2 separate regions of the Homo sapiens genome follow, and region 1 is linked to region 2. Evidence: promoter capture Hi-C in 16 types of primary human blood cells and fetal thymus (Javierre and others, 2016). All regions are on one chromosome and are shown on one strand. Each heading gives the region's core, a stretch centred on a gene start or on the middle of the fragment in contact. The rest is flanking DNA. Distances are from core to core; before and after follow the strand shown.

What was found. The method cuts DNA at HindIII sites, captures the fragments that hold promoters and counts their contacts. A CHiCAGO score of 5 or more calls a contact.
Region 1: a fragment that was not itself captured here is called in contact with the fragment with the promoter of KLF14 in region 2 in 1 of 17 cell types (endothelial precursors); the score reaches 5.3 in endothelial precursors.

What each region holds. Positions count from the first base shown.
Region 1 is chr7:130,459,813-130,465,394 of GRCh38, reverse strand. No RefSeq gene overlaps it. Among named protein-coding and RNA genes, the nearest start is that of CEP41, 22 kb to the right of the region's middle. The HindIII fragment of the contact is 1,655 bases long and covers 1,687-3,341 here.
Region 2 is chr7:130,732,629-130,737,786 of GRCh38, reverse strand. KLF14 (KLF transcription factor 14) reads left to right here and starts at 3,580. Exons shown (of 1, transcript NM_138693.4): 1 at 3,580-5,158. The coding sequence starts at 3,754. The coding sequence ends at 4,725. It overlaps LOC105375508 (a long non-coding RNA gene), which reads right to left and starts at 3,523. Exons shown (of 4, transcript XR_927978.3): 1 at 3,405-3,523; 2 at 818-866. RefSeq lists silencers at 3,767-3,846, 3,917-4,076 and an enhancer at 3,972-4,509. The HindIII fragment of the contact is 4,510 bases long and covers 2,528-5,158 here.

The sequences.
Region 1 (5,582 bases), core at 1,265-3,764, 270 kb after region 2:
AGTTCCTAGAGGCTACCAACAGTCCTCCACATGTGGTCCTTGCCATCTTCAAGCCATCAACAGGACATTGAATCCTCAAGCTCCAAATTTTTGACTCTTGTTCTGTGACCAGCTGCAGAAAACTCTCTGCTTTCATATACTTAGGACAGACCTACCCAGATAATTCTTTCAATTTTTTTTTTTGAGATGGAGTCTCACTCTGTTGCCCAGGCTGGAGTGCAGTGGCGCGATCTCAGCTCACTGCAAGCTCCGCCTCCCGAGTTCACACCGTTCTCCTGCCTCAGCCTCCGGAGTAGCTGGGATTACAGGCGCACACAACCATGCCCAGCTAATTTGTTTGTATTTTTAGTAGAGATGGGGTTTCACCATGTTAGCCAGGATGGTCTCAATCTCCTGACCTCATGATCCGCCCACCTGGGCCTCCCAAAGTGCTGGGATTACAGGCATGAGCCACTGTGCCTGGCCAATTATTTCAGTCTTAAGATCACTAGTGCCCATATAACATAACTTAATCCTGGAAATAAACTCCATCATATTGAAAGTCCTAGAGATTATTCAGTTCATGTACCCTAGAGACGAAGGACATTTTGTGGGTCATTCGAGAATTCATCCTGCTGAAAGGACGTTTCATAATGATAAAATAATCAGTTCATCTAGACACAGCAAAACTGAATGTATTTGCACCTGATAACAGAGCTTCAAGATATATGAAGCAAATATTAATGGAACTAAAAGAATTAGAGAAATTCACAATTATAGTTGGAGATCTCAGCCTTTCTCAGGAATTAATAGAACACATAGACAGAAGAGAAGTTAAGATATAAAATACTTGAACAACACTATTTACCAAATTGACCTAATTGACATTTGTAGAGAATATTCCCAATTACTTTAGAATGCTCTTTATTTTTTTCAAGTTCACATGGTACATTCACCACTACAAACTCTATGTTGGGCCACAGAACAAGTTTCGATAAATGTAAAAGGATGGAAATCATACAGAGTGTATTCTCTGACCACAAAGACATTAAAATAGAACTCATAAAGCTTGTTATAGCAATTCCACATGGCATAGAGACACTCCAATTTTATGCTTGGATGTCAACATGACAGTAATTCTGTGGTATGATCAAATAAATATGAATTACTCACATAGGAGTAGAAGTCCCAAAGTGAGTGGTGGAGAGGATGGCTCTCTCTGGGACAAAGTCCAGAATACAGACAGAGTGAATAGCAAATGTGCAATGGTTTATAAAAAGAAAGTCGTCCTGCTACCATGAGATTTAAAAGAGGTTCCACCTAGCATGAAATTTCAAAGAGGCAGCAAGAGGGCACATGTGCTTATGAGACCTGAGGGTGAGTGAGCTTTATCAGGGTACTGCAGGAGGCAATAAACACAGGCAGGAACTAAGACTTAAAGCTATCTAGCACTGAATCAAATGCCAACGGGAGTTCAAGTTTCTTTTGTATAATCTTCACAACACCATATAAAAGGAAATTAAACAAACATAAATAATTTGGGATCAAGGATAAAATCATGAAGAGAATGAAAACATATTTTGAATTAAATGACAAGGAAAATACAATACTGCATATGAAAATTTCTGGGATGCAGCCAAGGCAGTGCTCATAGGGAAGCTTATACCTCATCCAAAGGAAAAAGATCTGAAATCATTAACCTAAGCTTCCACCTTCAAAAACTGGAGAGAGAAGGGCAAATAAGCTCATAATCCATAAAAGTAAAGAAATAACAAAGAGCAGAAATTAACAAAGGAGAAAAGAGACAGATAATGAAAACAATAAACAAAGTAAAAAGATACTTCGTTGAAAGCATCAAAAAACCCAACAAACCCTTAGCTAGATTGATCAAGGGATAAAGAACACATATCGCTAATAACAGGAGTGAAGAAGAGTTACCACCACAGATCCCACAGACATTAAAAGGATAATAAAATGACATTATGAGGCCAGGCGTGGTGGCTCATGCCTGTAATCCCAGCACTTTGGGAGGCTGAGGCGGGTGGATCACTTGAGGCCAGGAGTTCAAGACCAGCCTGGCCAACATGGAGAAACCCCATCTCTACTAAAAATACAAAAATTAGCCAGGTGTGGTGGCATGTTCCTGTAATCCAAGCTACTTGGGAGGCTGAGGTAGGAGAATTGCTTGAACCCAGGAGGCAGAGGTTGTGGTGAACTGAGATCACACCACTGCACTCCAGCCTGGTGACAGAGTAAGATGCTGTCTCAAAAAAAAAAAAAAAAAGACATTATGAATAATTTTATGCTGGTAAATTTGAAAACCTAGATGAAATGGAGAAAGTCCTTGAAAAATACAACTTATAATAACCGATACCCCAAAAAAGCAAGTATTCACAACATGTATCAGACAAACGACTTGTATTCAGAATATATGTGGAACTCTTAAACCTCATGAATTAAAAAAACAAACTGCCCAATTAAAAATAGACAAAGGGTTTGAAGAGATCTTCACAAAATAGGATGCACAGCCAACAAACACACAAAAAGATGTACAATATCATAAGTCATCAGAGAAATGCAAACTGAAGCCACAATAATTTACTACTACACACCCACTAGAATGACTACAATTTTTAAAAGTGAGAATACTGAGTGTTGGAGAAGGTGTTGAGAAACTGTGGCTCTCATATATTGTGGATGGGAATATAAAATAGTACAGCCACTTTAGAAACAGTTTGGCAATTTCTTACAAAGTTAAATGTATATTTACCATACAACCCAACAGTTCCATTCCTATTTACACTAGAGAAATAAAAACATATGTCCACACAAAGGCTTGTACATATATATTCATAGTAGGTTTATTAATAGCTAAAATCTGAAGTCAGCCCAATGGTCAATTAACAGGTAATAAATACACAGATTGTAGTATGTCCACACTTAGCAATAAAAAGTAACTAAGTACTAATACCTACAACAACATGGATAAGTCTTAAAAACAGTATGATGAACCACAATAACCATACCATATGATTTCATATAAATGAAATTCTAGAAAATGCAAGTCTAATCCACAGTGACATAAGCAGACCAGTGGTAGCCTAGGACCAGGTTAATGTATATTGCTTGGACCAGAGCATAGGGGAACTTATAAGGATGACAGAATTGATTGTAGTTGTGGTTACACGGGTATATACATTTATCAACATTCATTGGATGGTATGCTTAAAATGGGTACAATTTAAGGGTGTAAATTCTCAATAAAGTCAAGTGTAAACAATATTCCTATAAGAGAAACTCCGAACAGGAGAGAGGTTTCCCTGACTTCTATTAAATATTCAAGGAAAAAATAATACCAAGCTTACACAAATTGTTTCAGAAAACAGAGGTGGGAAAACATTCATTTTATGAGACCAACAATACAGTGATACTGAAACCAAAAACATTACAAGAAAATAAAACTCCAGGCCAATATCCCTTATGAACATACATACATAAACATAGACAAAATATTAATAAATTGAATGCAACAATAAATAAAACTGACCAAGGGGGATTATCCCAAAAATGGAAGATTGGCTTAACATTTTAAAGTCAGTGGATGTAATTCAATACATCAATGAAATAAGAGAGAAAAAAACATAAATGAGGCAATTTTGTAGGTACTCTGAAAATACCTTTTAAACAAGTCTCCCTCCAGGTGAATCTAGTTCAATACAGGCTTATCATGAGTAGCTTGACCCTACCTGCTGATTTGCCCCACACCTAATCACAGCTTTTTTTTGAAAGAGCTGTGCACTCATCAACAAATTTCCTGCCTATCATTGGCCTATGCCTGCATAATTGCATGTGAGGGTGAGAACAGGCATTCAGAGGAAAACATCGCCCTTGCTTCGTGACTACTTTGTTGAAACATTCCTTTCATAGAAAGGGTTTACATTGCTATGGTGATCATACTGGATTCTGGGATTTGTTGTGTTTTATTTTCTCAGTGAGCAACATCTACATATTTGCCCCACATGTGGAGAATGCTTGCCTGGTGTTCCTCTCCTCCAAAAACTTAAGGAAAGCTAGTGAAATGTGTTTCCTGTCTTCAGCCTACCCAAAAGAATCCAAAGAAGGCTCTTGATCATGCCAAACCTTGCATTTAACAGTCACCCTGAATCCTTAGAACCTCATCTTCCTAATCTCTAGGCGGCAAGACTTACCTGTTTGTCTCTCTCTAATCACTCACCTAAATCCTTGAAGTTGATGAGTCTTTTTCCCCGAACCTCCAAAGCAGTTTCAGCCAAGATGCAGACACCTGGAAGACTATCACAGAGCATCTTCTTCAACCAGAGAACTCAGTACCACAAATTGCAAGCCATATCTTGGCCCAAGAAGCCCAGAAAGGGATTGTCATGTGGCTGCTCTTACCAAAGATAAATGGAAAATATCTGCAAGAGCCTGGAGGTGGGCCTTAATTCCTCTGCTAGCCAGAGCAGGTGGGAAGAGGATCTAGTGATTGCCTTATAGTAACACAGGAGGAATCAGCTTGAACTAAGAACTCCCCTGAGACAAGAATCCAAGCGATACCTGAGACACTGTTGGGGGAAACCTCTATGCATTTGTTGGGGAGCCATGCTCAGTCCTTTCGACTGTCATCCCTACATCCACTCTTAATCCTAGACTGGCTCCCCAAGTTTTCCATTCTTGCAGTAGTTCCTGAGTCATCTGCTGCTGCTGTCAATAACTAAGGTGGCCATAAAATTCATCGTCCAAATTGGGACACTTTTGAGAGTGCAAAGTGGATGCTTTTAATTATTACACTGTGACAACAGGTATAAATTGGGATTGTCCCAGGAAACCAGCATATGGTCACCCTAAAAATTACCCCTCCATCCCAAGGAGCTCTCTCTCTCAAAACTAACTGGAGAGTCACAGTCACTACACTGTTCTCTCTGCTGTCCCCACAAACATGCAGATAAACTTCTCACTTGAAAGGCTTTACTTCTGGTTGTTACAGGTAAATTGACAGTGATCACTGAAGTAACCAATCAGGGAAAGTTAAATGAATGTTTCTAGTGTATTGTCCCTGGTCTGACCAGCCAGATTTACCCTGAAATGGCAACTAAAGTTTCATGGATTTTAGTTTTAGATTTTATTTCTTTTACTTTATGTAAATGACCATGTATTATTGCAGACATATCACATGGATATTGTGGAAAATTAGAACATTGAGACCAACCAGTATTACAAAATAAATTGCCACATGACCATCACCAAGAAATTATTACTGCTGAATGATATCAGCAAGAATAGTAGACTAAGAACCTCAAAATCTTCTCCTCCATGAAAGCAATGGGAAAACTGGAAAAATGGTCAGAATAAACCCTTTCAGAACTCTGGAAATTAACCAAAGGCTTACAGCATTCAGAGAACATTTATTCAAGAAAAACACCTAAGGCCAGGAGTGCAGTGGCTCCAAGGCAGGAAGATTGTTTGAGGCCAGGAGTTTGAGGCCATTTTGGGCAACATAGTAAGACTCTGTCTCTATAAAAAAAAGAAAAGATTAAAAATTAGCTGGGCATGGTGGTGCATGCCTGTAGTTCCAGCTACGTGGG
Region 2 (5,158 bases), core at 2,331-4,830:
AGGATCTCTACCAATGACAGTAGCAGCAATGACCAATTTAAACATTTAATAGAAAAGAGATCTCACTTATAATAGCAGCAAAAGCTGTAAGGTACAATAGGAGTAAGTCTAACAAAGAGGTACAATACTTTTATAAACAAATTATAAAATGTTATTGAAAGACATTTAAAAATCAGAATATTAATGTACTAGTTGGCTCAATTTTATGAAGTTGTCATAGCTCCCCAATTTTAACCTATAAATTTAACTAAGCAAAATACCAAAAGAGTTTTTCAATGCAACTTGACAAACTAATGCTAAAGTTAGTATAGAAGAATAGAAGTCCAAAAATAGCCTATACATTCATGAAATTAATAAAGCAGATTCTACAGGTATCAACATGAGTAGCTCTCAAAATCACATGGAGGGAGAAAAGCAAGTTGCAAAATGATGTGTACATTACCTAACAATTTTTTAAATGAACAAAGAGAGGATATGTCCTTCTGCACATCAAGATTTACAAAGCCATGGTAATTAAGACTGTGGTATTGGCTCAAATTTGGTTTGATTAGTGGAAAAGGACAAACTAGAAACACATCCATGAATACATAGAAATTTAATTTACAATCATGGTGGCATTACATATTAATAGGGACACGAAGGACTGTTCAGTAAATCGGGTTACCACACGCCTTCCATATGGGGGTTGGGGGAAAGGGAGGAGTAAAATTATTGAATTCCTACTTTACACCATTCAAAAAAAATAAGTCCCAGATAGATCAATCTCGTGTGGAAAGCAAAACTTTAAAACATTAAGGAAGAAGACATAAGAGGCTACCTTTATGCATCAGGTATGGAGAGGTTTCTTTAATAATCCACAAATGACACTATAAAGAAAGAGATCAATGAATATGAGTACATTTTAAATTGTCTATAGTACAAAAGACATCAAAAGCAGTTAAAAGACAAGCCACAGACTGAGACAATATATTTAATGTTTACACGCATGAATTCCTACAAATCAGGAGGAAAAAAGATAAAACATACACGATCTACTGAAAAAAATGAATGAAGACTGTGAAAAAACAAATCACAGACTTGGAAACCTCAATAACCAACAAACATATGGGGAAAAAATGCTTAACTTTGCTAGCAGTGAGGGAAATTCAAATAAGACAACAAGATACTGTTTTTTAAAATAATCAAATTGGCAGGAATAATAAAAATCTTAATCTAGAAAGTGTTGAAGATCATGTGAGGGAAACGTGAACTGTCACACACTTCTGATGGGTGTGCAAATTGAAGCATTTGGCAGTCTCTCGCAAAACTGAAAATGTGTGTGGAGCCCGGCAATTCCCCATCTAGGTAGATACATAGAGAAATTCTCACATATGTGCAAAGGAAACATGTACAAGTAGTACCAAAATATTGGCAGCAGTTTAATATTCATCAATAGGGGAATGAATAAACAGGACACATTTGTATGCATGGATCCACACTATAGCAATTAAAATGAATGAATTGGATCTATATTTATCAACACGAAGAGAAAAAATAAAAACATACCATGAATGAAAAAAATAAGTCCAAGAATAATATGCACAGCCTAATACCATGTTTGTACATTTAAAAAAATCATATAAACCAATATTCTGCATTTTATAGGTTCACATCCAGTTAAATTGTAAAACCCAGACTGGAAAGTTACATACCAAATTCATGTTAGTGTTTGCCTTTGGGGAAAAGGGTGGAGAATGGTATTGGGGGCAGTACAAGGGGACCTTCAATTTTATCAGAAATGTTGAATACTTAATAGATCTGAGGGAGATATAACAAAATGTTAACATATTCATTATATGAGACAGGTATATGGGTGCTTGTAATGTTCTCTCTGCATTTTAAATATCTTCACATTTTTTCTAAATAATAAAATTAAAACAGCTAGTAAATTATTCTATCTGATAGATTTTAATGTGTAGATTAACGAAGAGTTAATCGTCTAGAGGAACTTCAGAAAAATTAACTGTTTTGCAATGGAATCGCCTTAAAAATAATAACACTGACAATATTATTTAAAAACTGCTGAAATGAATAAAGTAGATTCTATAGGTGTCAACCTGGATAGCTGTCAAAATCATATTGAGGGAAAGAAGTTGCAAAATGATATGTATACTAGTGAACCATTTACTTAAAAATTTTAATAAATAAGCATGGAGATATACATATATTTACATGTATAATTAGGTAATACGGGTATCAAAACAAATGCAGATTAAATAGCCACTTTATAATACTAATTACCTAGAAAAGTGAAGAGGGAGAAAGGTGAATGGAACTGGGGAGGGAAACAAAGTGACATTCAACTCTATCTGTAATGTTTAATATAAATAAAAACATGAAACAACTATAACAAAAATTTCACATTTGATTACCCTAGGCAGTAAATACATGAACGTATGTTATTCTTGATACATACGTATTAATTTTCAAAAGAAAAAGTACTGAAGAACTACAAATAAAATGCACACAATTCACTCATATAAAAGCTTGTATACATCAAAAACTAAGATATGACTATTTTTAGAAATTATCCTGTTTGTTTTTCTATGTAGTTTTACATTTTTAAAAAGAAAAACGAGGGAAAAAATGAGAGCAATGAAGACACGTAAAAGAAACCGTACATGCATTTGATTATAAAAAAGGCAAACCTCCACAATCACAAAACACCATATGAGCATTCTATATCATGTGCTGCATTTCCTTACATTTAACTTTCGTCAAAAGCAAATTACAAGATAATGCCTAATTGGAAACGTGACTTTCTATTATTAAAATGGTGGGAGTCCATTTTAATGTGTTTATCTCGCCGCTAGACTATAATTTATATCTCAGCGTTTAAATTTGTTTGGATGCCAGTGACAGGTTAATGCAGTTTAAACATGCATTTTTCTTTCGTTGGCTGAATAGTTAAATCGTTACTCAAAGGATTTTAAGTTTCAATTTCAACCGGGAGAGGATTCTTTGCTTTTCCAAGGTTAAAACTGTTTCTGGTTCGAGATGCTATTAATTAATGGCTACGTAGCGGATCTATTTAGGGAACTGCTCCCGGCCCCGGGTTCACAGTTGACCTGCTCAATGAGAAAACTTTTTTTGCTACAGACTTGGGGATATTTGCAATTTAGTCTGAGAGCGGCGAACGGGGAGTGAAATGGAATTCGAGACCACTTCGCTAACAATCGCAATTATGAACCGAAAGACATGTCAGGTATTAGCAATTTTTTTCCTTAAAAAAAAAAAAAACTTTCTGGGACTCCGCGGGACACCCAGCTGGCGACGGACCAGCGGGCGGCGGGCTGCGGGGAGGGGGGGCGAGGCTGCTGCAACCCAGAAGTTCCGACTGGGGAGTTTCGCTCTGTTACCATTACCTGGCTCGCCGGCAGAAGAAAGAACGCGGAGACAAGATAATTTCTGAGGCTGTTAAACATGACTTAGCCGGGGGCCGCGCGTTCCGAGGGGGTGTCCTGCGGGCCGGGGCGGGTCTCTGCCGCCCCCGCGGGCTCCGGTGCGTCAGGGGCGCGTCAGGCGGGGCGGGCTCCGCGCGGGCGGCGGCGGCAGCGGCGGCTGCGGCGGCGGCGGCGGCAGCAGGCGGCAGGCGGCGAGCACCCGGCCTCCTGCTTCTCGCTCCGAGGCTGCGGGACGGACGCTCCCGGGAACTCCGTCGCCCGCGGCCGGCCGCGTTCGGACGGCGCTCGCCGGCGGCCGGGCGGTCCCAGCATGTCGGCCGCCGTGGCGTGCCTGGACTACTTCGCCGCCGAGTGCCTGGTGTCCATGTCCGCGGGCGCCGTGGTTCACCGCCGCCCGCCGGACCCCGAGGGCGCGGGTGGAGCCGCTGGCTCGGAGGTGGGTGCGGCGCCGCCGGAGTCCGCTCTGCCGGGTCCGGGGCCACCGGGGCCCGCGTCGGTCCCCCAGCTCCCGCAGGTCCCCGCCCCCAGCCCCGGCGCGGGCGGCGCCGCGCCCCACCTGCTGGCTGCAAGCGTCTGGGCGGACTTGCGCGGCAGCTCTGGCGAGGGCTCCTGGGAGAACTCGGGGGAAGCTCCACGCGCCTCGTCCGGCTTCTCCGACCCGATCCCGTGCTCCGTCCAGACCCCGTGCTCCGAGCTGGCTCCCGCCTCCGGCGCCGCGGCGGTCTGCGCTCCCGAGAGCTCCTCCGATGCGCCCGCCGTCCCAAGCGCGCCTGCTGCCCCGGGCGCACCAGCAGCCTCTGGTGGGTTCTCTGGAGGGGCCCTAGGGGCAGGCCCCGCCCCCGCCGCGGATCAGGCGCCCCGGAGGAGGTCTGTCACACCTGCTGCCAAGCGCCACCAATGCCCCTTCCCGGGCTGCACCAAAGCCTATTACAAGTCGTCGCACCTCAAGTCCCACCAGCGCACCCACACGGGTGAGCGCCCTTTCTCCTGCGACTGGCTCGACTGCGACAAGAAGTTTACGCGTTCCGACGAGCTGGCCCGCCACTACAGGACGCACACGGGCGAGAAGCGCTTCTCCTGCCCCCTCTGCCCCAAGCAGTTCTCCCGGAGCGACCACCTGACCAAGCATGCTCGCCGCCACCCAACCTATCATCCAGATATGATCGAGTACCGGGGACGTCGTCGAACTCCCCGCATCGACCCGCCACTCACCAGCGAGGTGGAAAGCTCCGCCTCCGGCTCCGGTCCCGGCCCGGCGCCCAGCTTCACCACCTGCCTGTAGGACAGTCATTGCTGTCAGTCTTACCCTCAAGGATGATCCCCCAGGCCGTTGTCCCTGCTTTCTCTCTGCCCATCCTTCTTTCCCAGAGTCATTACACCAAGGCACAGACTGGTTCCTCTGCTCTGAGGGTGGGTCCAGGCAGACATGTGGACTCTGGGGAGGTACTGGGGGCCGGAAAATAGCGGGAATTCTTGCAACGTGTATATCATCCTAAAAGTGGGGGTTGCCTCAAGACAGCCCCCAGGAACTGATAAGAAGGGATGAACTCCCGTACTCTCCAGAGTACTGAAGATTCTCCCCTCCCTGGAACCAGGGATGTGAAACTGGAATTCTCAGATGCCTGAGGAGCTCCCAGTCTCAAAGGACTCTGGTGTCTCACCCATCCACCAGGGCGGACCTTGGAGAGGGTGTCAGGGGTGGCAGTCTTGGAAAT